Linked DNA regions of Homo sapiens: regions 1, 3, 4, 5, 6 and 7 are each linked to region 2. Evidence: promoter capture Hi-C in 16 types of primary human blood cells and fetal thymus (Javierre and others, 2016). All regions are on one chromosome and are shown on one strand. Each heading gives the region's core, a stretch centred on a gene start or on the middle of the fragment in contact. The rest is flanking DNA. Distances are from core to core; before and after follow the strand shown. Region 1 holds the start of ITPRID2 (ITPR interacting domain containing 2). Region 2 holds the start of UBE2E3 (ubiquitin conjugating enzyme E2 E3). Region 3 has its middle 20 kb from the start of ITPRID2. Region 4 overlaps ITPRID2 (ITPR interacting domain containing 2). Region 5 overlaps ITPRID2 (ITPR interacting domain containing 2). Region 6 overlaps CWC22 (CWC22 spliceosome associated protein). Region 7 has its middle 16 kb from the start of CWC22.

The links. The method cuts DNA at HindIII sites, captures the fragments that hold promoters and counts their contacts. A CHiCAGO score of 5 or more calls a contact.
Region 1: a contact is called between the fragment with the promoter of ITPRID2 here and the fragment with the promoter of UBE2E3 in region 2, in 12 of 17 cell types (fetal thymus, non-activated CD4 T cells, activated CD4 T cells and 9 more). The highest score is 19.6, in fetal thymus.
Region 3: a fragment that was not itself captured here is called in contact with the fragment with the promoter of UBE2E3 in region 2 in 1 of 17 cell types (total B cells); the score reaches 6.5 in total B cells.
Region 4: a contact is called between a fragment that was not itself captured here and the fragment with the promoter of UBE2E3 in region 2, in 2 of 17 cell types (fetal thymus and monocytes). The highest score is 6.8, in fetal thymus.
Region 5: a contact is called between a fragment that was not itself captured here and the fragment with the promoter of UBE2E3 in region 2, in 5 of 17 cell types (monocytes, fetal thymus, total CD4 T cells and 2 more). The highest score is 8.5, in monocytes.
Region 6: a contact is called between a fragment that was not itself captured here and the fragment with the promoter of UBE2E3 in region 2, in 1 of 17 cell types (monocytes). The highest score is 5.1, in monocytes.
Region 7: a fragment that was not itself captured here is called in contact with the fragment with the promoter of UBE2E3 in region 2 in 1 of 17 cell types (total B cells); the score reaches 6.4 in total B cells.

The regions. Positions count from the first base shown.
Region 1 is chr2:181,890,357-181,893,951 of GRCh38, reverse strand. ITPRID2 (ITPR interacting domain containing 2) reads right to left here and starts at 2,222. Exons shown (of 18, transcript NM_001130445.3): 1 at 1,675-2,222; 2 at 1,292-1,337. The coding sequence starts at 1,885. RefSeq lists silencers at 1,586-1,725, 2,016-2,345. The HindIII fragment of the contact is 2,528 bases long and covers 75-2,602 here.
Region 2 is chr2:180,978,675-180,981,998 of GRCh38, reverse strand. UBE2E3 (ubiquitin conjugating enzyme E2 E3) reads right to left here and starts at 1,394. Exons shown (of 6, transcript NM_006357.4): 1 at 1,026-1,394. UBE2E3-DT (UBE2E3 divergent transcript) reads left to right here and starts at 987. Exons shown (of 2, transcript NR_187176.1): 1 at 987-1,933; 2 at 2,333-3,324. RefSeq lists a silencer at 1,117-1,976. The HindIII fragment of the contact is 2,197 bases long and covers 87-2,283 here.
Region 3 is chr2:181,869,572-181,873,164 of GRCh38, reverse strand. No RefSeq gene overlaps it. Among named protein-coding and RNA genes, the nearest start is that of ITPRID2, 20 kb to the left of the region's middle. The HindIII fragment of the contact is 2,698 bases long and covers 400-3,097 here.
Region 4 is chr2:181,905,764-181,909,278 of GRCh38, reverse strand. All of the region lies in intron 8 of ITPRID2 (ITPR interacting domain containing 2), which reads right to left. Among named protein-coding and RNA genes, the nearest start is that of ITPRID2, 16 kb to the right of the region's middle. The HindIII fragment of the contact is 9,837 bases long and covers 1-3,515 here.
Region 5 is chr2:181,927,260-181,930,969 of GRCh38, reverse strand. ITPRID2 (ITPR interacting domain containing 2) reads right to left here. Exons shown (of 18, transcript NM_001130445.3): 17 at 2,692-2,809; 18 at 232-1,409. The coding sequence ends at 2,705. Among named protein-coding and RNA genes, the nearest start is that of ITPRID2, 37 kb to the right of the region's middle. The HindIII fragment of the contact is 1,969 bases long and covers 1,469-3,437 here.
Region 6 is chr2:179,980,243-179,983,496 of GRCh38, reverse strand. CWC22 (CWC22 spliceosome associated protein) reads left to right here. Exons shown (of 20, transcript NM_020943.3): 5 at 1,500-1,745. Among named protein-coding and RNA genes, the nearest start is that of CWC22, 25 kb to the left of the region's middle. The HindIII fragment of the contact is 1,916 bases long and covers 860-2,775 here.
Region 7 is chr2:180,021,419-180,024,700 of GRCh38, reverse strand. No RefSeq gene overlaps it. Among named protein-coding and RNA genes, the nearest start is that of CWC22, 16 kb to the right of the region's middle. The HindIII fragment of the contact is 1,491 bases long and covers 644-2,134 here.

The sequences.
Region 1 (3,595 bases), core at 973-3,472, 910 kb before region 2:
GAAACCTGAAAGATACTAGTTTTATCAGATCTCACCCAAAAGGTCTTGAACATGTACATTCAAAATTTCAAGCTTTTACATTATAGACTATTTTAGTATTTAACAATTAAATGAACCAATAGCACATTAATACAATTTCTTGATCCATACTTTGAGTGAAGTATCTAATATCTAAGGCTTATCTGAAAACTGGGAGATTGATTTACAGCTAGATTGTAAATCTGGGGTCCAAGGACTTCAAGCAGTGTATTTGCCTCTGTGCATCTTTAAACAGAAGTTATTCCATATATGTCATCATATTTCAGAAGGGTCTATGACACTTCCAATAAAGGGTACGAGTTCTGTAATAAAGAGTGTTCAATAAGGTTCCAGTCGATTCATCAAAACAAGGCATTAATATCATGGTAGCCAATATCTTGTCTGTCTTTAGAGGAGGCAAACTGGCATATGAATCACTTTCCACAACAAAACAAAACAAACTACCCTAACTCTAATATTTGAACAAAATATTAAGAAAATCTAAATTGAGAAAGCAAAAATATGCTCGAAAGCAAACACCAACAAAAGTTTAAAGGCTACATTCCTGATTTTACAACTAGCAAAGTGGAATAAGAAACAAGTACATTTTGCTGTAGTCAGATTTACGTGCAACATGATTCATCTCCTCTGTATTTTATCAAACATTTTTGTACCAGTTGCCAAAGCATGTAATTAAACAGATTTATGCAGTCTGAATGCTTTTAAAAGTTCTATTCCCTGAGAATTCCAGTGCCATCTGACAATTCCATGTTCAAGAAGTAAACTATAAGTACAAAGTTAGCTAGTTTTAATAGCTCCCCAAACAGAAACAAAATTAAAGCCCATTTAGTGTAGTTAGGTAAATTAAACTCGTCTAAAACACATTTGAAAGGAAAATGATTCCGTGCCAGTTGTACAGATGCCAAAACTAAAGCAAAACAAAATATCCTGTTCGAGATGTGAGAATTCTTTCAAATAAAAACAGAACAAATATGGCATGATTATCTGTTCTGGATTTCTGATCTCTGATGCTAACACGATGCGTGAGTAGCTCAAGTCCTAACTGTAAAGTCAACACGGTCACCAAATAATCAGCGGTCACAGCACTTCCATTTCTAATCGCTTAGAGGAGGAAGCTATCCGCCGGCTCACTTTCCGGTTTGTAGCTTACAACGGTCGCGGGACCCACAGGGACGCGGCCCGAGTGGCTCTGCTCCGGCGTCCCGTCCGCACGGATCTCCCCCGGGACGCGGGCGGACCAGGGAGCACTCACCGGCAGTCCTTGAGCCATATCGCGATCTTCTCGTTGGGCACGTTTCCTGGGGGTAGAGAGAGGGGACAGCACGTTACCACCCAGGAGCACTACGACGGCGGAGTCACCCTGGACCCTCCCAAGTAGGAAAATCTACCACGGCAAATGCAGCCTAAGCGACACGTCTCAGTGTCCCTTGGCAGGGAAATCGGATGGCACCCAGTTGTCTGTGTTGACGCTGGGGGCGCCTCGTTCAGCGCGCGCGTTTGAAGGTCGGAAGTGTCCCCTCTCCCCTCGGCCTACCGTGCCCGAGGCTCTCCCAGAACTCGTGGCAGGCGCCCAGGGCGCACGAGACTCTCCCCAGCCCACCAGCCTCCCCCCGGAGCCCGGCCGGGAGCACCGACCTCTTCCCCCCGCTGCCGGCAGCTGCGCGCCGGGGAGGTCCTCCTCCTCGTCCTCCTCCTCGTCCTGCGTCGTCGCTTCTGTGGACAGATCCTCCGTCTCCGACGCTTGCCAGGAGCTGCGGCACTTGGCCCAGGCCTTCCTCCTGCGACTCGCCACTTGCCACTCCAGTTCCTCCTCCGCCTCCGCCGACGACGACAGGGGCCGGTCCATGGCCGCACTGGGGGCTCCGCTACCCCAGCCGGACCCTGCGCGAGACAAGGCGGCGGCAGGGACCCCCGCCCTTGCTGTCAGCGCCCGGCCGGGCAGGGGGCCCCGGGGAGCTGAAGCGGGCGCCGGAGGAGGAGGAGGAGGAGGAGGGGACAGGGAGGGAGGGAGGGAAGGAAGGGGAGGGAAGGGGCGGAGGGCCGGCGCTTCACATGAAGGCGGCCGGGCGCGCGCGGGAGCGCTAGTGGCCCGAGGGAGCGCGGCTGGGAGCCGAGCGCCCGCCCGGCCCCTGCTCCCCACCCCCTGCCTGACGCGCCCGGAGCAGGCCGGCCGCTGCGCGTCTGCGCGCCTTCCCTCGGCGGCGGCCCACGCCCCCTTCCGGCCGGGGCCGCGCGGGGCGCGGTAGGGCGGGGCGCGCCCGGCGCGACGCGGAGCAGGCCAGCCCCCGACTACTGCCCGCGGAATGGGCAAGATTAGTTTGTTAATAATCTTTCCTCCTCTCCTCCTCCTCCTCCCTCACCTAAAAATAGAACGTAAGTGGGGAGGCCAAGTCTCACAAAACATCCCCCGCGAGAAAACAAGTGTCTGCTTGGGCACCCTGAAACATACACTTGAAAGAGTCGCCTGAATATAGACTCTTTAGTGTCCAAGGAATTGGGGTAAGGACGGAAAGAGGTGCTTGATTGGTGTTGCCAAAATGTAAAAACTGCAAAAGACTAAGCTTCCTGGAGTGCTACTTTCATACTTAAAGTTATTTATCGTGTTTATGTTATGAATGAAAATGAATTGTGAAAGGATATTTAATCTGGAAATTTCACATTGAAGTTGGACTTTGGTGAGGGAGAATAGAGGAAACAATTGGGACAATGTGGAGATAGTTGCTTGGATTTTGGTGAGACAGCATGATACAAGAAACAAATGATGTCAGGGTTCAAAACTTTTTAAAGCCAGCTTTGGCATTCCGTTTTGTTATGTTTAAATTCTCATTAGCAAAAATACTCAAATTCTATCCAAAACCAGACACAATGTGACAGACCTATCAAGCAGCATTGTTCCCCTAAATGTTACATCTGAACTATACATATAAGTAAGGCTTCCAATATTTTATTGTACTTGGCTATGCTCTGAAGAACAAGTTAGAACACTTTTTAAAATCTTAACGTGATTGAAAAGAATATTTTGCGTAGACAAAATATTTTAAGGAAGGAATTATTTTTCATTTGAAATTAAAATCCAGAGCATAGTAAAATTCCTAATGGAAGCATTCGAATTACAAGGTAATTAAGTGCATTGTCATTGATAGCTACAGGAAACCATAACTTTTGGAGAATTTGGAATGAAGAATGCTCTGGAGATGAAATAGTGCCTAGTTTTTGTCCAGGCATTTACACATAAGTCATAGACTACTAAAATAGCACACTGATTTTCCTGCCTTCATTCTTTCCTATCTCCTTTCTAGCGCATTGCTCTAGATTTACAATTCCAAGACATCTTCTAATGGTTTACTAATATCCCCAAGATCAAATCCAAAATCCAGACTAGCTTTCCAGAACCATCATAATATTCTCCTGAGTCTCATCTATGTACTGCCAAATGTCAGGGGAGTTAGAACAGTGATATTAATATCTCTATGGCTTGAAATTTCACTACTAGAAAATCTTTTCTTTGAACCTATAAGACTTTCTCAGCCTTCAAGGGTCCTGTAGTAGGATGCAG
Region 2 (3,324 bases), core at 145-2,644:
AGGAGGAGGAGAAAATGTTAAATCTAGGAAATAAACCAACAGCATTTTCTTCTAGTCATCTAAAATCGTCTTGTAATGAAAAAGCTTCAAAAGTGTTCACACTTATTTCATCGTACAACAGGGGTACGTACAAGGGAGGTGATGTGTCACACAACGCCAGCGTTAAGGGATTTGCCGAACTCAAGTTAGAAAACCCACTCACATTTTTTTCCGTCTCTTGGACAATCTATCAATTGTCTACTTTCTCAGAAGGCATGAAACAGATTTGCCAAGGAACTTAGGCAACAAGCATTAATAACATATGACACACTGTAAATAACAGATCTCGCTGAAAAATGTTTAAAAGTCACTAATAACGTCTAAATATTTACACACTGACATTGGTCAAAGCTACCAAATTCCCTTTCCGAGAGGAAAACACACCCTGTTAATCGCCCATATGCTTATTTAAGGTGGCGATTCCTCCTCAGTGCACGTAAAGCCTTTAAACACAACACTTGGAAATTTAAAAATCAACTAACGAGCTGCTCTAGCTGTTTCCACGGCCAGCAGCGAAGATTCATCCGGCCAAGACCGAGCTGCCACCCTGGGAAAAGCAGAATTCAAACTGCACCTTCTGCAAAGCTCCCAATGCCACCAAGGTTCCTCGCTCAATTTTTATATCACGGACCGACATTTTGTCCAAAATAACGAAAAAAATAAGAAACCCAGAGAAAAAACAAACAAATAAACAAAGCCCCAAGAAGTGCAACAAATTTCCGCGCCCGCGGAGGCGAGCCACGGCCGGCGGCGGCGGCCACGCAGCTCCGCGGCCCTTTGTGGGGAGGGCCGCGCGGGGGCCGCGGGTAGCGCTCGCCGCGCCGGGCGCCAAGTGATGCGAGCAGCCCAGCCGGCCCCGCCGCGGCTCGCGGACACCGGCGACGCGGGCGCCCGGCGCGAACAAAGCTGCCCGCCCCCGCCCCCTCCCCCACCGCCGCCGCCGCCCCGGCCGCCCCCCACGCGGCCCCCCGGCCCCGCCGCCTTACCTCGGCCGCCCGCCCGGCCCGCTCGCGCGCCGCTACGGTGTGGGGGAGGGAGAGAGAAAAAAACCCTTCCTTAAGGAAATGGAGGCAGCTGTGGGGGGGGGAAGGGGGGGGAGGGAAAAAAAGAAGCCGAGGAGGCTCTGGCCGGGGAGTGTGGAACATTGAAAGTCGGAGGGGGTTGTGCAGTGCCGGGCTCCGGCCGGAGGGTGGCGCCGCCCAGCGCCTTCGGAAAAAAGCGGGGGTGGGAGCTCGGCTGGGCGAGGGCGCGAGCTCCCGGCGAGGCGGAGGGGACGCGGGAGACCCCCGCGCGCTGTAGCCTCCCGCCGCCGCCGCCCGGCTCGGCTCCTCCCGGCCGCGCAGTCAGCAAGTTCCGAGGCGAGCGCGGGGGGGAGGGGCGGGCGCGGCGGCGACGCGCGTGCTCGCTGCTTGCCTGGCGGAGGGGCGCGCGCCGCCGACGCCCGGCGGGCGCGAGCTGTTCCCGCGCGCTCCCGTGCGCGCTCTCCACACCTCCCCTCACCCTGGGGGTGCACGCGTCCGCCCGCGCGCGGCCAGGACAAAGAGCGCGGCGGGGACCCGGCGGGCTGGCCCCTGCCGCCCTTGGCCGCGGAGCCTGTGCCAGAGAAGGCGGGGGCGCGGGCACCGTATCGCGGGGCCGCTGTGCCGCGGGGTGGCTTCCGGCCTGGGCCCGCCTCCGGGGCGAGGCTGCCCATTGGGCTACCCGCGTCCCCAGGGCTGGTTCCATCCCATCCGCCTGCGCGGGGGCCGTCGTGGCTCCCGGGGCCCCAGTACCTGGGCAAGGGCCCTGGGCGCGTGGTTGGGAGTCCCCCGCCGCCCCGGGAGACGGGAGACTAATGGGTGTTGTTGACGAGGCCAGGCACGCAGGCGGAGAAGAGCTGCCACTTGCCCCTCGCGTAAGCTGGAGGAAGGGACAAGTTGGGGTCCTGGGAATTGAAGAGGGTAGAATGTATTTGGAGATTAGGGGAACAACCTCTATTTCTTTTTGGCTCATAGCTTGCAACTGTCGCTGCCAAAGGGAAGTGTCCTTCGGATTATTTGAAACCTTAAAAATCCAAAACAGTGTTTAAAATGTCCCGCTCAACATTCTTAAAAGTGAAGGAGAAGAGTTTGGGGTTGGGGGGTGGCGATGAGAGCTAAAACATGACACTTTTCTGCGGGACTCTTCTGTCTTGCACATGAGGAGCCAGTTCTGGAAAGAAAAGTTCTGAGTGATGTTGAGTCAGAATGTCCACCCAGAAAAGCTTTAGGTGGAGATAGTGACAGTTTTGTTTGTTCTACCATTCTTTTTGCAGTCTCCAGGTGGACTCTGCGGTTTTTACCCCACGGCACAAAGTAGCCAGAATACAAAAACTTCCTGTTTGCCACCCAGGCCTTCTCCAGCTACTGAGAACTTGTTCCGGTGATGGAGCCTCAAAGGAATTTGTGGATTCCTCTCCCACAAGTGTCCAGGGGCAGGGGTGCTGTGAGAATGTGCAGTTCACAAAGGGAGTGAGAATGGCAGTCAAAAGATGTATAGAGTTAAGGGAAAGAAGAAAAGACTGAGTGAGCCAACGTATTTGCTTACTATTTCTCCTAATAGAAAACTTTTGGTAAAGGCTTGATAGCAACTCTAAAGAGTAAGTTACATTTCCATAATTTTCCAAAGACACAGTCATTCAGTTAACTTTATTGAGGGCTATATGTTGCTAGGTGCTGGACATACACTCATTCAATTGCTGTGTGACTAAAGCCAGGTCTCTACTCTGTGCTAAGAGCTCCTAGTCCAGAAGGGGAACAGTTCATTAAAGTTCGCTAGGTTCATAAGTAGTAAGGATATTCCACTCAGAATGAACAGATAGAATATCTCATGCCTCAAAAAAGATCATGGTCTGTGTGTGGACAAGCATTTTGATTTGGCTGGGTCAAAGAGTGCTTGTGGGAAAAGCTTGTTAGTGAAAATAAAAGCAGAATTTTCCCCCAGCTTTACACGATGTGATGTTACAGCAAAAGCCAGCCAATTTGGAGTTGAAGCTTTGCTTTGTTTGGAATGGGGAGACAGAAAAGGAAAGCTGTACGTTAAACATGGGTTCTTTTAGGAAATTTAAGAACAGAAATAGCCTGAAGGCCCAAAGGCCAATTGCTGATAGGATTTAGTGGGGTAAGGAGCTTAGGGGAGAAAGATATTTAGTTGTTTGGTAACATCTTCTACAGAAGAAATAGTATTGGGTTGAAAAGCCAGGGAAGTGTATTCTAATCCTCATTCTACGAAGTTCATATGACCTCAGGCAAGTTAAGTTATTTCAAT
Region 3 (3,593 bases), core at 499-2,998, 890 kb before region 2:
GTGAACATGACCCCTGCCCCCACCCCCGCTTCATCTCTGTTGTTTCTGTCCACCAAGAATGTCATCTCCTTTATCTTCCTCTCTTGCTTGAGTCTTTCAACATTTACCTTTTCCAGAAAGCTCTTTCTGAGTTTTCCAGTCCATGTGGTGTTCTACTCTCAGTATGAGTTTAGCATTCTGTTGTTCTGACTACTAACTAACTGGTTTATTCTTAACGCTCTCCTATAGTCTCCATCTGCCCTTGCATTCTGAAACATACTAGAAATTTCTCTACCAAAGTTTGTTTATTCATTGTTCAAATCCGTGAATTCCATTGTGCGGGCTTGACCAAATCTCTTTCCTCAACCTTAAAAACAATGAACTTGGCTGTCAGAGGTCATACATAGAGGCTGAGAAGCTTCATAATGCAAGCATCAGTCCAGACAAATGAAAAGGAAAAAAAGATTCATGCCTATGCTATTTCAATGTTCTGTAGTTGTATTAGGTCAATATTTTTTCTTATGTTTCCTTAGAAAAAAATGTTTTATAATGTTTGATAAAAATAAGAATCTAGGATTGATTAACAATTTGAAAAATTGTGTTTCATTTGTATTCTGGTTTGTGGATTACCTTTTATCAGTAAATTTCAGTTTTGAAAGTTCTACTTTGAGGTAGCATTTTTTAAGTAACCAAAGTTAGTATTCAATATTCTTGACTTCTAAACTTCTGTATAACTTCAAGGATGCAAGCAGTGTAACATAGTTTTCCTACATAGAAACAATCTGGTATAAATATCATTCAGATATTTGCTTTGGCATGTGTTCACTTAACAGAATGTGTGAAGAAATACACAAACCCAGTGTCAGGCAAATACCACTAAAAAGTACTACCACTCCAGTTAATAAAATATATTGGTGAAATTGGGACATTTCAGTTTGGCTATATTTAAAAACTATTTCTATGTTGCACCGGTTCATTTGTAAATGGAAAAAAAAAGGCAGGCAAAAAACAGTAAGTTCCACTTGATTCAGGCAACCTGTTAAATAAACTGTTGCTACTTTTAACTGCAGCATACTTTAATGTGACTGCCAACATCTATAAATTTTTTAGAATGCCTGGTTTTCTCATCAGATCAACTTGACTCAGCTATCAATAAAAAAGTGCCATATTCGGCTTGATCACAACAACTGTTGATACTGCTGCTAGTTTTTTTACCAAAATATTCCAGTTTACAAAATAGACTTATAATGTGAAAATCTCAATAGAAAAGCCAAGTCATCTACATGTGTGTATTTGTATATATGTGTGTATGCATATATATAATTTTATAAATATTTATTGTTAAAGTCATTTCTAATGAATTAAACTTTAGAAATAAATTGTACATATAACTTACAAAATTTAGTGACATTTAACACAGTGCACTTATTATTGAAAACTTATATAAATAATTTAAATATGCTTAAATTGAGAATATTCAGAATTTCGTTCTTTTTTGAATGTTTTCAACTCAAAGAAATGATTCATGTTTGAAATAACGAATATGCTAATGACTCTTATTTGATCATTACACATTGTACACACGTATTGAAATATCACACTTAGCCCATAAATATGTACAATTTTGTGTCAATTAAAAATAATACTTTAAAATATTCAGTCCATGTAAATTTTTCCCATTCATTAAAGTGTTGTGTTACCTTTCGTACAAGATGATTTACCTAACTTAATAGGAATTGAGTACTAAGATTTGATACCCAGAAACTTGCACACTAATTAGGACCATAATAAGGAACTGCAGTATAAGCCAATTATCATCTTAGAGATATAGGCATTGCTTTAAAATCACGTTTTTGAATGTGAAAAACCATTTGAGATCTGAGGTGAATCAAAGGGGAACTTTTTTGCCTGGAAAAGCAATGAGGAATTCCTGGTCACATTTACTCTCCCTCCTCCCATACATACATCAACCATCTTTAAAAGCACTATAATAAAAAAAAAAAAGATTTGACGGGAAGTATGATTTTGATTAGGGAAAGTCTGAAGGCGAGGGGAACGGTAAAGAAGTTAGATAAGAAAGAAAGGGAGCTATTGGGCTTTTCTGTATATTATGAAAGTATGTTTATTCTTAGAGGAATATAGCTATAAAGCTACTGAATCCATTGAGGCATAAGTGGGAGTGCAGCTAGGACAAATAGGATGTAATGTTTTTATTTTGGCTCCATTCAACTCTGTCTCAATTGACCATTCCTTGAGAGAAGAGTAGCTAAGCATCAAATAATGGAGAATGTCAAATAAGATTTTCTCTCAAACTGTATCAGTGCCTTGGATTTAGTAGCTCATCAATATTTTGTTTGGCTTAATTAATCTGAAAGTTATAAGAAAAACATGAGTAAATTAAAGATGATGCTCAGAAGATACTACACATACAAGTTTCTGGAATAGATGCCACCCATAAACACTTGAATATAATTGCTGTTGATAAGGCCCACAAGAATAGAAAGGCCATGAAAGGAAAGTTGAAAATTGGTTGTGTATTCCTTTTTAGAAAGATGTTGACTTTGTGGCTTTAAGGAAAAGAACCCAGTATTTTTAAATAACTCAAATACATCAAAATAAAAACCAAAAGAAAAGCATCCTGGTGGTTAAAATGTTGCAGTTTCATTTTTTGAAAATCTAACTTTACATTCGTGTACCATTTATCTATCTCAGTTCTTTCTTTTATGCTCCAAATCAAATTTTCCTCAAATTTCTAGTAATAATAAAGAAAAGTCTGTTTTTTCCAATTTCTCCAAAGTTAAGTATTTTAAGGGGAGAAAGGCAAGAGGCAAACCTTGTCATTTGAAATTATTATGTGCCCCTACTAGAAAATATAGATTTAGTTCATTTTATGTTCAACTGGTGAGAATTTATTATCCTTGGTACAATTTTATATATCATAGAAGTGTAGCACATCTACTCTGAAGATGATGTTTCTAAAGAAAGAGCCAGACGTTTGCGTTCAAGTTTAAAACCTCCTGAAATGAAAAAGATGCCCAAAAGTAAGGTTAAATTAGCCTTACTGCATATTCTAAGGCTACAGGAACTGTTTGGTAATTGTTTCTATGAAGAACAAGCTTAGTGCAAGCTAACCTAAAGTATCAATATGAATAGAATTGCAAGCCATACTAAATTAGAATAGTATTAGTTTAAGTTTAAAATGAGACTTTTTTGGAATACTTCATGCTAGTTATATTGTTATCAACAAACCAAAATTCTTCTAATTATTTTGTTCACATGCATTTTCTGATATGCCTTTATTGTAAAATATCAACATTAAATGCTATGAAATTCTATTTCATCTCTTGCAGTATGCAGATTTCTCACAGAAAATGTACATATAACGTGGCACATAAATTTTGACATCATAAAGTGAGAAAAATAATTTTAAATTGGTGTCTTAAAATACAATTCTTAAGAAAAAACTTATGTATAACAGGGTCAGGGTCAGAAATTTTTTTTCATAAGAGGTCAGGTAGCAACTTTTTTTTTTTATTTTTGAGAAGGAATCTTGCTCTGTCACCCAGGCTGGAGTGCAGTGGCGGGATCTCAGCTCACTGCAAGCTCCGCCTCCT
Region 4 (3,515 bases), core at 241-2,740, 930 kb before region 2:
CAGGTTTAAGACTGCTTTGTCCTGAAATTCTTTCAAGACATAACTTGGGAGCTGTATGTGGAAAAGCAGGTTTCATTACAGAACTAAAATAATGAAAGATATTAACCATAAATCTTCCCTGAAAACACTGTTCAAAGAACATATCAAACTTAGTTGTCTTTTTGTGTTTATTTTTCTATCTGCACAAGTACATAATTTAGAAATTTTCAGATTCCTAAATCACCACCTCCACCCCACAAACACTCTGTCTATTCTAACATAATTAACTCTATGTCAACATTAAATACATAGGGAATGGGCAAGATGCACGGTAATTTCTGTCACTTTACTCTGTAATGATTGGTTCTTAAATCATAAAGAACATCCTAGTAAAGTGTGGTACCTAGCTGAACATATGGGTTTTCAACCTTGAAAAAAAAAATCAAAGCGCTAATAGTTAACACATTTTAGGGAAAACTCTGGTAGTTTTTAGTTATGAAGCTATTCAAGAATAAGAAATATTCCAAAGGAATAAGAGTGAAATAACCAACATTTTTAAAAGCCCAAAGGTTAAAGATAGTATTACCCAATTTAAAATTTGCTCTAATTTGTGATTTCTTTGCTCTACATAGCTCCAGGAACCGAAGTTTATGAATCTTTTGAAAACTGAAAGCACACTACTCATGCAAAACCATCACCTGTAGATCAGATATATAAAAATAGATTCTACTATTCTTTGTTATCTTGTTAAAATTAGAATAATTCTTCAAAGCAGCAGATACATGTTCAACAGGAAAACCATTGTCTTGTATGCAAGGGAACAATGTGCGTTTTCTTTTTATATTCAATAAAATGTCTATTATTAGCTTCTATTCAGGCTCGGTCTACTTCAAGTATCTTTCTGTAAAGTAAATATCAACCAGATCAAAAAATTATAGCAGAATTCCAATGCCTCTGCATTTATGTTCTAGGAATACTGGCTCAGGCACAGCATTAATATACCAAATCTCTCACTGTCATGTTTTTTTTAAATTTAATCTATTTATTTATTTTGAGACTGGGTTATGAGACTGGGTAATTTTTGTATTTTTGGTAGAGATGGGGTTTCACCATGTTGCCCAGGCTGGGGTCTCAAACTCCTGGGCTCAAGCGATCCACCTGCCACAGCCTTCCAAGTGCTGGGATTAAAGGTGTGAGCCGCCGCACCCGGCTGCTCACCTTTAAACACAGAATTATCACATATTCTATTTCCTTAGACTTATGAAATTAATCACAAAATAACATGACTTTAATAAACACATATCATCAGCATTCTATTCTTCAAGATGCTACTCAATGGCAAAAACAAATCTACTCTCTCCTTTTACTACAAACTCCATAATTAAGTGCAAGAAAGGAGCACTTCAAAAAGCTGAGACAGTCACATTTTACTAATAAAACTAAAGTTGGGATTCTTCTTGTTTACTCAGCAAAATCAGAGTACCCACTTGCTGAAGAGAGAAACATACATGCTAGTGATAATGGGTGAATTTCTTATTTTATTATTGGTCACAATTGTGCAAAAGGCGGCAGTCAAATTTGAGATGGGGTACACCACAGAGAATTATGAAGCAAATATAGAACACAGAATTTAGATTTATGTGACAAGATTTTCCCTATTCAGTGGTTTCAAATGCTCCGTAGAATTCTGGTCATTTGCTATAAGCAGCCTTTCATAATTAACAAGAATAGCCAAATAAAACTGAATTAGAATGATGAGTAATGGGTGTTCATGATATTATTTTCTCTAATCTTCAAGTAAGTTTGAAACTTTTCATAACAAAACTGTTTCATAATATAAAAAAAAAAAAAAACCACTAAACCAAAGTGATAAAATTGCATGGTCTCAATGTTTTGGGATTCAAAGATGAAAAACAGCTTTAGAATAACCCACACATTTGGGTTACTTCATTTAAAAAAGTTTTCATGAAACAATGACTGTATCTTTCTAAATCAATGTTCTGCTAAAATGACAGGCACTCACTTTGGTTTCTTTCTCTTGTTTAAAAAATGTACTTTTTGTTTCAGTGAACCACTTTGGTTTCTTAACAGCTGTCATGTTTACCTTGACTAAGAGGGATCTTCTAGGCACAATACTACTGTATTGTATTGCACAGGACAGCAATACATGGATGTTCTAACTCAAATAACCCTTCCTCTAAAGTTTAAAAAGAGACTGTATAGCTGTCATCATTGAATAAACATTGTATATCAAAATGGTTTTCAAAGAAAATCAAAACTAGAGCTTTAGAAATTACAATTCTGTCTAATTTTTAATGACAGCTCAAAAAAATGTCAGAGGAAATCATTCTTTTTCCAAAGTAGTAGCATGGTGCTGTGCATCAGATGATTAGTTCTTGTACAATGCCTGACCATACCAACATATCTGACCTTCACCAAGTTGTATAGTATAGTCACAAGTAACGTGAATTCAAGTCTTATTCATGCCACTTACTGGCTAACGGCCTCTGACAATTATCTGCGATAAATATCCGTATTTTTTTTTTTTATTTCATTTTTTTGAAACAAGGTCTCGTTCTGTTGCCCAGGCTGGAGTGCAGTGGTGGAATCATGGCTCACTGCAGCCTCAACTGCCTGGGCTCAAGTGATTCTCCCACCTCAGCCTTTGGAGAAGTGGGACTACAGACATGCACCACCATGCACGGCTAATTTTAAAACTATTTGTAGAGACAAGTCATGCTATGTTGTCCAGGCTGGTCTCTAACTTCTGGGCTCAAGTGATCCTCCTGCCTCAGCCTCCACACAGTGCTGGGATTACAGGTGTGAATCACCATGCTCAGCCTCAAAATTAAAATTAACAGCAAAATTAAAATTAAAATTTCTACCTCATAGGTCCTTGGGGTGATCAAATGTAACTGTAAGTCAAAGTACTTTCAAACAGTAAAGTAGTAAGAATGTACAACAGGAGATCCTCCTCTGCCATCCTCCACTGACACCCGCTGTGCTCCTTCCCCCTGTGAAGCACTGATATCAAAAGGAATATTATAGCCCTCAGAAAGATGGTGAAGAACCACTGCTATAAAACAATATCAAATGAGGGAGGGGATGCTTCCTCATTTGTAAAGGGAAGAAACTAGAAAATGAATAAAGTATCTCTTTCCGTACTAGTTTATGATTCTATAAATTACTTGCAAATGTTTATCTTAAACAAATACTATCGAGTTTTACACATACACACAAAAATATCATTTATTTTTACTGTCAGGTAAATTTTCAATAAAAATTGACTAAGGTCTTTTAGGTAAATATCAAATAACAAAACAGTGGTTAATTGGGCTTTAGAGTAGCAGATATCTGTGCATGTCATATGTTAGAGTTCATATTCCAGGGCAGGCTTATCTTCAAAACATACACAGTTACATTTAAAAGGCCAAAGGAACAACTTAATTATCTGTCAAATATCTGACTGATGTGGGATTATTTTAACTCAGACCAATAAACATAGAAAAATCCTAAAACTTAACAGCTAAAAATGA
Region 5 (3,710 bases), core at 1,204-3,703, 950 kb before region 2:
CACAGAACTAGATAAGCCAAAGAGGCCTCAATCATGCCCTCTCTCCAGGGTGGTCTAGTCTTAAACAGCATTTTTTAAAGCATTGTTTTTTTAAAGTATCATAACACTTCCCTAGGAAAAGAGAGTATCACTCTATTGGGTTATATGCTGCAATTCTTTTGGACCTCATTTGTTACCTATCAAATCTAATTCAAAATCTTCATGTTGCAGTTTAAGAAACCACTAAAACACTTTAGGCAAAATAAATACTTTATTGTTTTAATATATATATATTTTAGAAATCAGCCTTTGTGTGATATTTCAAACATTTATAAGCCTTTTAGAGATTCTTTCAAAGAACACTGTTAACAACTCAACCACTTTTGATTAAAATATCACACACAAAGAAACACAATAGGAGTTGAAAAAATTATAAATGCTAGAAGAAAAATTCTAATAACATTTGGTGGTTACTTTACACATTTATTTAACACATATAAAACCAAATGGGAAACCATTTTCCTTTTTTTTCATAAAAACAAAGTTTTCACTGGTTAAAACTGAACTAAAATCATTTTATGTATGAGGAGAACAAATCTAAATTACTTCCATTTTGAAAAAACAAACACCAGCTTATTCATTTCTATTCATTCAAGTCATAGGCCCCATTATTTGGATGATACTCTATTTAGTCTAGAAGACAGAAAAAGAAACATCTCCATCTAATAAAGAAGTCTGGACAATGCAAAAAGTAAAAGTACATAGTGTTTAACATAAGGCACATTTCCAAAAGAAAAATACTACATAAGCAATGATAAAATTACATTTGTCTTGGGTAAAGCAACAAGGCTTACAGTGTAAGTACATTAAGTAGTTGTAGGTAACCTCATAAAATTCTATCCTACTGCTATTAGTAACCTCCCCAAGAATTAAGAGCAATTATATTTTTTACAACAGAACAGTTTTTCTTCTTGGAAGTGACATTAATTAACAGCAGTGGAGGGAAAAATCATTGGATGCTTCAAGCTCTGAAAAAAATGAATCAGTTATTGCACAGTAAATACCTCATAGAGGTCAGTGTTTTAAGATGTTAGTCTGAAGAAATATGTTATTTATAAGTTGGATAAGTCTGGAAGTCTTCAAGTTTTAAAATTAATTCTAATAGGGAATCAAATGAAAAATACTGACATACAAATAAATATTAGGCTTTTCAAACTGCTAGAGTTTTTGATAGTTTAGAAAAGAAATAGCAAAGTGCCTAAGTTTCTATGTACGTCTTTTTAAAATATATGGTTGAAGAAATACACATTGTACACTGTATACAGTAGCCCAGCTCAACAGCAAGTATCTTCTAAAGCACAAATAACACCTCCACCAGTGCATATCATTGATAATTCCAGTATTACACAGCTAATAGGATCCATGCCAACCTTAAAAAAGAAAAGAGAAGTCAGTTTTAAACCTCTTTCAAATACTGTTATTAAAAGCTTCTTTAAAGGAAGATGAGAATTTTATGCAAATATATATACACAGAAACATGATTATCCTGTAATCTCTATACATCTTCCTGAGAGTTAATTCTTATATCCCTGGCTTTAAAAAAAATAATTCCTATTAATTGCTTTGTGACATAATTTATTAAAATACTTTCCAATTTCCTATATCTGAAATTGTATATTATACTTTTCAAATTACATTTGTTTCTCATGTCTTATTCAATGAATATTTTTAGTTCTATTCTACTCAACTTATTCTTTCTTTTTGCATTCACCAAGAATTATTATTAATATATATTATATAAAATGAAGTTAGAGCTAAAGCAGGAGGATCGCTTGAGGCTAGGAGTTTAAGACTAGCGTGGGCAACATAGCAAGACCCCATCTCTACAAAAAAATTTTTTAATGTAATTAGAGCTACGAGATAAAATGAAAGTAATTCGTTTTACTAAGACAGACATATAAAAGAGTTTTTTGAAATAAATTATTATTAGAAATGAATCTATGGGATATGTTTCTTTAAAAGATAAAAATAATTAGGAAAGATACTTAGAAGTTGTGATTAATTCGGCCGGGCGCGGTGGCTCACGCCTGTAATCCCAGCACTTTGGGAGGCCGAGGCGGGCGGATCACGAGGTCAGGAGATCGAGACCATCCCGGCTAAAACGGTGAAACCCCGTCTCTACTAAAAAATACAAAAAATTAGCCGGGCGTAGTGGCTGGCGCCTGTAGTCCCAGCTACTTGGGAGGCTGAGGCAGGAGAATGGCGTGAACCCGGGAGGCGGAGCTTGCAGTGAGCCGAGATCCCGCCACTGCACTCCAGCCTGGGCGACAGAGCGAGACTCTGTCTCAAAAAAAAAAAAAAGGAAGTTGTGATTAATTCACAAAATCTTGTTCTTTAAAACTATACATCTGAAATACCATTATAATCAAAATAAGATTCAGGTTTGAAGGTCCAATTCCAGGATTTATTACTATAATGAAATTTCAGTAGAATGACCCAATATAAGTAATTCCTTGGAGATTTGTATTATGGGATTTGACTTACACTTCAAATAGGCTTGTGTGAAATTTTCACATTGTAAAATAACATATTACATACATTCTAAAACTCAAAATTTAACTAGAGAACCAAACCTGTATACTAACAAAACAAAGAATAAAATGCCAGTTACTATTTACATTTAGCTCAACAAAGAAACTCAGAAAAATTTACCTATAATTTCTGTTTAATGATAATCTTGCTTAGAATTAGACGCTTTACTTGAAGATACTGCTGCCAAAAGTCCACTTACAATTTCCCGTCTGATTTCCCCAACAATAGACTCTTTAATCTAGATTGGAAAAACAATAAAACAAAAATTTACCAATATGAATGGAATTCATTTTTTCCTGTTTTTGGAAAAAATACAAATAGCATTCAATTTCTTAATTTCACCTTCATGTGAATCTCCCTGCAATACAGAGAGGGAGTGGGGAATCGAGTCCATCTATCATCCAACCCAGATCAGACTCCCAAGGACTGGTCTAGAATTGTTCAGCTAACTAGATTACAAATATCACAATTCATAAGGTGAGGACATTAGAAAATGTTATTTCATAAGTTAAAAAACTTCTAGTAAATACTTTACCTCATGTCAAAAAAATAATCTGGAAGGACTTCTTAAATGTTTTTAGTATTGTCTAACTTTGTAAGGTAATCAGCAGAGACACAAGTGCTCTCATTGCTGAGAAAATCTTTTAGAGGCAAAATAGTATACAGGTATACTGCCTGTTTATGCCAACTGACAGCAAGGTATCTAAAGACATATTGTTCAACCTAACACATTTAAAATGGGAAGAAGAAATTATCATTTAGTACAATTTATTTTATAATATAAAAAACATCCTCAAAACAACCATAAACTCTAAAGAAATAACTTTTTCTTTAGTTGCATGGTATCACTGCCAGCCATCTAAGCTTTTGTTTCCAATATGCATATAGGATATGAGGATATACATCTCATTTTATTGTTGGAAAAGGCAAACAGACCTGAGGAAATGACAATTCCATCAGGATTTTCTTCTACAGGTGTCCAAACACTTACATATGCCTATCTCCACCTTTTCTCTCTAATGATACAGCATCACTTTTAAATAGCCCTTTGTGAAAGCTATAAATGTGTATTTCCTGAAATAAAGTGATAATGTGTTCCCAAATAAGCACTCAAGATACTCTCAACAAGCTTTTAAAAA
Region 6 (3,254 bases), core at 568-3,067, 1.0 Mb after region 2:
GGAAATGTCGTACTTATACACCATGGAATACTATGCAGCCATAAAAAAGAATGAGATTATGTTCTTTGCAGGGACATGGATGGAGCTAGAGGCCATTATCCTTAACAAACTAACACAGGAACTGAAAACCAAATACCACATGTTCTCATTTATAAGTGGGAGCTAAATTATGAGAACACATTAACACATGGAGAACAACACACACTGGGGCCTTATGGAGGGTGAAGGGAGAGTGGAGGGTGGGAGGAGGAAGAGGATCACGAAAAACAGCTAATGAATACTAGGTTTAATATTTGGGTGGTAAAATAATCTATACAACAAACCCCCATGACACAAGTTTACCTATGTAATAAACCTGCACTTGTACCCCTGAACTTAAAATAAAAGTAAACAAATGAACAAAAAAAATCTGTTCCTCCACAGCTACCTGGGAAGATGACTGCTTTTCAATCTCCGTGTAGGTTTTATTACTATATATTTAAAAGACCATCTCAAACATACTCCTTAGATTTAGCTAAAATCTATACCACAGTTTCCTGGTAATGCAGTGATAATATGAAATTTACTTTTATTTACTATATTATATATAACTCATGGTTACCCAAAACACAAACAGAATGATCTGGGTTTCCAAGGCAGTATATGTAAAAAGCAGCTCAGTGGATAAACTTTGCTCTGGGGAAAGATAGCAAAAAGCAAGAATTCGCTCTTTCCCGTTAGTTCTTGATGGTTTCAGAGAACTGTACCTTGATTGTTTTAAAAGCCTCAGCTTAAGAAAGGATAATCAGGTACGTTAGTAGGGAAGACATTGTGGCTAGAAAAGTTTTTCCCCCCACATTGTCTCAAATAAGCAGAAGCTTCCAATATTCTGAGATTTCTAATGAAAATATTAGTTCTATCAAGAAACAACTTCAAATATTATATTCTATAGTAGTCTTACAACTAAAGTAACCACTATTGGAGATTAACTCTGGTTTCTTCTCCTTTATACAATTTGTCATATACACCACAGGCTAATTTGTCTTCTTAAAACACTCTTTTCATGCCACTCTCCTACTGAGAAACTTTTAATGATTCCCCATCACCTCCAGTATAAAAACCTTAAAGTCTTTACATATGTTTTAAGATTTTAGTCTAACTCTAATTCATCTTTCCAACAACCATGACACATAATCCTTTGTTTCCTGATTGTCCTACTCATTCTGACCTTAACACCCCTGCTCAGTCTTTCAATAATTATTCCCTCTTCTACTAGTTGCAAAATGTCATCCTTCGTCTCCCCTTCCTCCTGCCGACTTGCCCCCAGTCTAAATCCTGTCAAGCCTTCAGGACCTAATTTGTTGAATTTTCTCTGTGAAACACTTTGTCACCATTCTAAACCACTTTTCCTAGTCTGAATTTGTGGGACCCACTTATGGTCTCACTCATTTGTGTGCAGTTAATTGCTAAGAGTGTGTTTTATATTGTCTTTTCTGCTCTTCAAAAAATTTATATTACAGAAACAGGGACCGAGAAAAACGCAGAGAAAGAGAAAGAGATACGGATCGGAAAAGGTCTCGGAAATCCCCATCTCCTGGGAGGAGAAACCCAGAAACATCAGTAACTCAGAGTTCCTCTGCTCAGGATGAACCTGCTACAAAGAAAAAGAAAGATGAGCTGGATCCTCTTCTTACTCGCACTGGTGGAGCATATATTCCCCCTGCAAAGCTCAGGATGATGCAGGAACAGATTACAGATAAAAACAGGCATGTTTATATCAATCAGTATACAAAGCCATGAAATTGTCATTGAAAAATAAGTCAACTGTGGTTTAATTAACCCTGGTTCTTGAGAATTTACGTTAGTCTATAGTGATAGAGACCTCAAATTAGAGACCTCTTTACTTTATAGCTCCATTGGAGAGCCACACACTACGTGCCCTTATATTAGCACATTACTTCTTTTTTCTTTTTTTTGCATGAATGAATTAAAAAGTTTGAGGAAAAGATTGCTTACCCTTTTTATAGTATGTTCAAACTATTGTTCCTTTCATAGTTTCATGGATGCATTCCTATTGATAATGTCTGTTTTTTGTAGAAAAGAGTAATACTGACATTTTAGTTCTAAAATTGACTTTTCCTGTTGTAAACCAGGAGTCAGCAAACTTTTTCTGTAAAAGCCCACACTGTAAATATTTTACACTGTGAGTCATTTTGTCTCTGTTGTTGCTACTTAACTCCGCTCTTGAAATGTGAAAATAGTCATAGGCATTGTGTAGAAAATTATAAGCATGGCTGTGTTCCAATAAAGCATTATTTACAAAAGCAGGTGGTCAGCTGCATTTGGCTCATGGGTGTAGTTTGCCAACCTCTGTACTTACCTATAAAACTGAAGCTGGCAATTATCTCTTTTTGTACATTTTCTTCAGATCATGATCTATTAGACTATACATTTTTGCTACTCTAAGGCAGACAGACAAAATTTATATATGAACAATCACACTTAAAACACTCCTCCTTCCCTTTTCAGAATAATTGAGATGGTGAGGAGCTATTTAGGAAAGTACAGCTAAGTTTTTAAGATATTTTTCTCTAATAGGATGAGTTGATAACTAGGGAATGTATGGTCCCAGATTGAAATGATTATTCAGTTGCCAGATAACTAGTTAAAAGATTGGGATAGAAGGTATTAATAGTTATAATTTAAGAAAAACAGATGCAAGGTGAGCCAGACAGGAATATTTCCACATCTTTTCATGAGTGTTTTAGTAGCAATTTGAAAAGTGCTTGAGAAGCTTATTTAAGTTAAATCTAAATTTGTTTCAAGGATTAGCTTGAAGTAGAAACGTCATGATCCGCCCACCTCGGCCTCCCAAAGTTCGAGACCAGCCTGGCCAATATAGTGAAACCCTGTCTCTACTAAAAATACAAAAATTAGCCAGGCGTGGTGGTGGGTGCCTGTAGTCCCAGCTACTCGGGAGGCTGAGGCAGAAGAATGGCATGAACCCAGGAGGCGGAGCTTGCAGTGAGCCGAGATCGCACCACTGCACTCCAGCCTGGGCAACAGAGAGAGACTCTGCCTCAAAAAAAAAAAAAAAATAAGAAATGTCATTTATCTAAAAGAAGCTATGAAGATTTGAAATAAATTAAAACCGAATTTAAGAGCCAGAAAGGGGTATTTGGTGACATTAAATTCAAAACTAATAAGTTTTTCTTTATGTGTCATATTTTAGCGCTTGGCAGTGATATTTGAAGTGTTAGGTTGAAAAGGAATTT
Region 7 (3,282 bases), core at 140-2,639, 960 kb after region 2:
TCTGCCCAATTCCAAGTTAACAGAAGAATGTAGTTGTATCAGCTTGGGACTAGTGCCTACCTCTGTCTCAAACTATAGTCCCAACCACTGTGTCACACAGATCAAACGTGGTTGTCGGAGGGCAGGAAGAATACAGTAATTATAGAAATCTGGTCATTGCAACCTTAATCACTTAAAAAAGTGTAAAATCTGTCTTTCCACACTCTCCCTCTTTCATCATTTGCATACAGACGTACTATACTCCAACTGTCCGCTTCTTCAATCTCACCATCCCCATACTGTAGGCAAACAAGGACTGAGGTATTGAAATTGATGTAATTGTTCCCTCATATCCTTCAGCTTCTAGCTGCATGGAAGGCATCCTCTCTAAGAACCCTTAAATTATTATGAGTAAATCTAGTTTTGGGGTAGATTTCCAGGTTTTCATTGTAGTAGGATTGCCAAATTAAATACAGAATGCCCAGTTAAATTGGGATTTCAGACAAATTTTTTTAGTATAAAGTTGTTCCAAATATTGTGTGAGACATACTAAACATTTTTGTCGTTTACCCCAAATTAAAATGTGAGTGTCCTATACTTTTATTTGTTAAATTTGACAATGTTAATCTGTAAAAACTGTTCTTTTTACTCAGCTTCAGAAGCTTCTTCCTGTAATTTCCTTACTCTTCAGTGATACTATTCTTCTCATCTTTTTCTAGAATGCCTGGATTCCACAGGCTCAAATGCTGCTTGCTCAGAACAAAAGTTATAGAACTCCTAGAGTTCAGTAGTCATGCCCTTCCAAAGAGGTTCCCTAGCAGGCCATCCCTGTTCTTTCACTTTGCTGCCATGATCCAGGGCTTGCTTTATTTTCCCTCAGGGGCCAGGCCCCCACCCCAAACCCAAACCAGCCAATATTATCATAATTTCTACAGAGATAACACTCGTTCATAAAGAAAACAGAACAGATTTCTTTCTCCTTGTCTCAAGCATTTCCATACACAGTTTCTCCTTTGCTTTGCAAAGGAGAAAGGAGGCGGCTTCCCTCTTACACTGAGATGGGATAGGATCCAGGGATTCCATCCCATCAGACTGAAGAGGTTAGTTCAAATGTCATTCCATCTCTGCGGGGCCACTTTCACTTCCCCAGTGCCATTCCACCAACAGCCTTTGCTGCAATGCTGGAAGGCCTTTGGTTTACTACATTGGTATTATAAGACTCTAACAGCTGATTCTGCACCACAAATCAATCATCCTGAATGGAAGCTCTCAAATGTAACCCCAGCATCATGCTCCTTTTTCTGGAATGGGAGTACCATTCCTAACAAAATACATTGAGAATCCAGGCAAATGTTCAAGAAATGCTTTACTTCCAGCAAAACAATAAATTCCAACTCACCTAGAGCTCATGAGCTGGTAGAATTAAGGAGTGGTTTTCCTAGTTTATTCAATGTGTTAGAGAAAGTGAAGGTGTTTACTCACGAGAACAGGCTATTATGAAAAGACATGGTAACTGATACTTGTCTTCAGAGATCAGACACTCAGTTGTCTCCTTAGAAAAGGAGACTTGGACCCAATGCAGAATAAAAGTTACTGGGATATGAATTTGATTCATTATCTTCCTCACCTTTTTCTACCCTGAAATACTAATCCAGGAATTGTGATACAAACTATAATGAGGGTTTGTTGGATGTAGTTCAGTATAGGTGAAATCAGATTGAAATTTGTGTTTCTTGTTCTACGTGTGGCAGGATATTTATATTTGAGGAAAGACAGCTCTTTAGTAAAAATGCATTTCCTGGGCTTTCAGGTTATGCAAAGCAAAGGAGAAACTGGCTATGGAAATGCTTGAGACAAGGAGAAAGAAATCTGTTCTGTTTTCTTTATGAACAAGTGTTATCTATGTAGAAATTATGATGATATTGGCTGGTTTGGGGTTGGAGTGGGGGCCCGGCTCCTGAGGGAAAATAAAGCAAACCCTGGATCACGGCAGCAAAGTGAAACAAAGAACAGGGATGGGCTGCTAGGGAACCTCTTTGGAAGGGCATGACTATTGAACTCTAGGAGAAACGGTGCCTCTTTGTTTTAGGATTTCCTTTTTTGAATTATAGTCTCATATATGCTTATCTATGCATATATCATCTCATAATAAGCTTGAGTAAAGTTTTTATAAAATGCTACAGCTGTGCTATAGGCAATTAAAGGTTAGGAGTCATGCCAATCTTTGAGGCATAACTAAAGTAGAAAGCAAACAGCAACCAGATGAAGTGTTTACAAGATGATAATAGGTGATGACTAGAAAAGTCAGAAACAGTCTTTTTGTGGAGAAAAGTGAGCAACAACCAGCTAAAAATAGTATGCTCATATTTATTGAGCCAGACATTTTTGAACTAACATGTTCTAAACATTTTCACAGATTATCTCATATAATCTAGGGAATATTATTATTCCTGCTTTAAAGGTAGGAAAACAGGTAAAAAAAAAAATGCTAAATAACTTGATCAAGATCAAACGGGGCAGTAAGTGGCAGAGCCAAGGTACATATTCTGGCCGCCTTGCCTCAGAGTCAGTAACCTCAACCAACATAATATCCTGTGTACATGCCCTCCCACCCCCCGCGATGTGGGTGTGATATCACCCTCTCCCCCACTGGATATTACGAACCACCTCGCGTGGCGGCGGGCGGTGTACATCCCCTCCCTCGCGATGTGGGGAGTGATATCAGCCTCTCCCCCCACCCGGATATTATGGACCACCACCCCCCGCGAGGTTGTTCGTAATATCCAGGGTGAGAGAGGGTGATATCACTCCCCACATCGCGGCGGGGGGTATTATACACCGACCCCGCGAAGTGGTTTGTAATATCCGGGGGGCGGGGTGGGAGTGTGATATTACTCCCCAAATCATGGGGAAGTAGGGTGTATACCCCCGACCACGATATGGTTTGTAATATCCAGGGGGGAGAGGGCAATATTACTCCCCACATTGTGAGGGAGTGTGCAGTCCTTTGCAATACCTACCTTGGAATTAGGAGTAAACTTATCCTAGAATATTTTGAATAATTTCACCGGGTGTACACCTACTGTGACATTAGGAGTAACATCTCCCTACAATATTATGAATAATATCACAAGGTGTAAACCCACCGCGACATTAGATGTAATATCTCAGTAGGATATTATGAATAATATAACTGGGGCTGTACCCTGTGTGGTATTAGAAGTAACATCTCCCTTGGATAATACAAATAATAACAATTAATAATTATAATAATAATGTTTAATATGATATTATTCATAATAT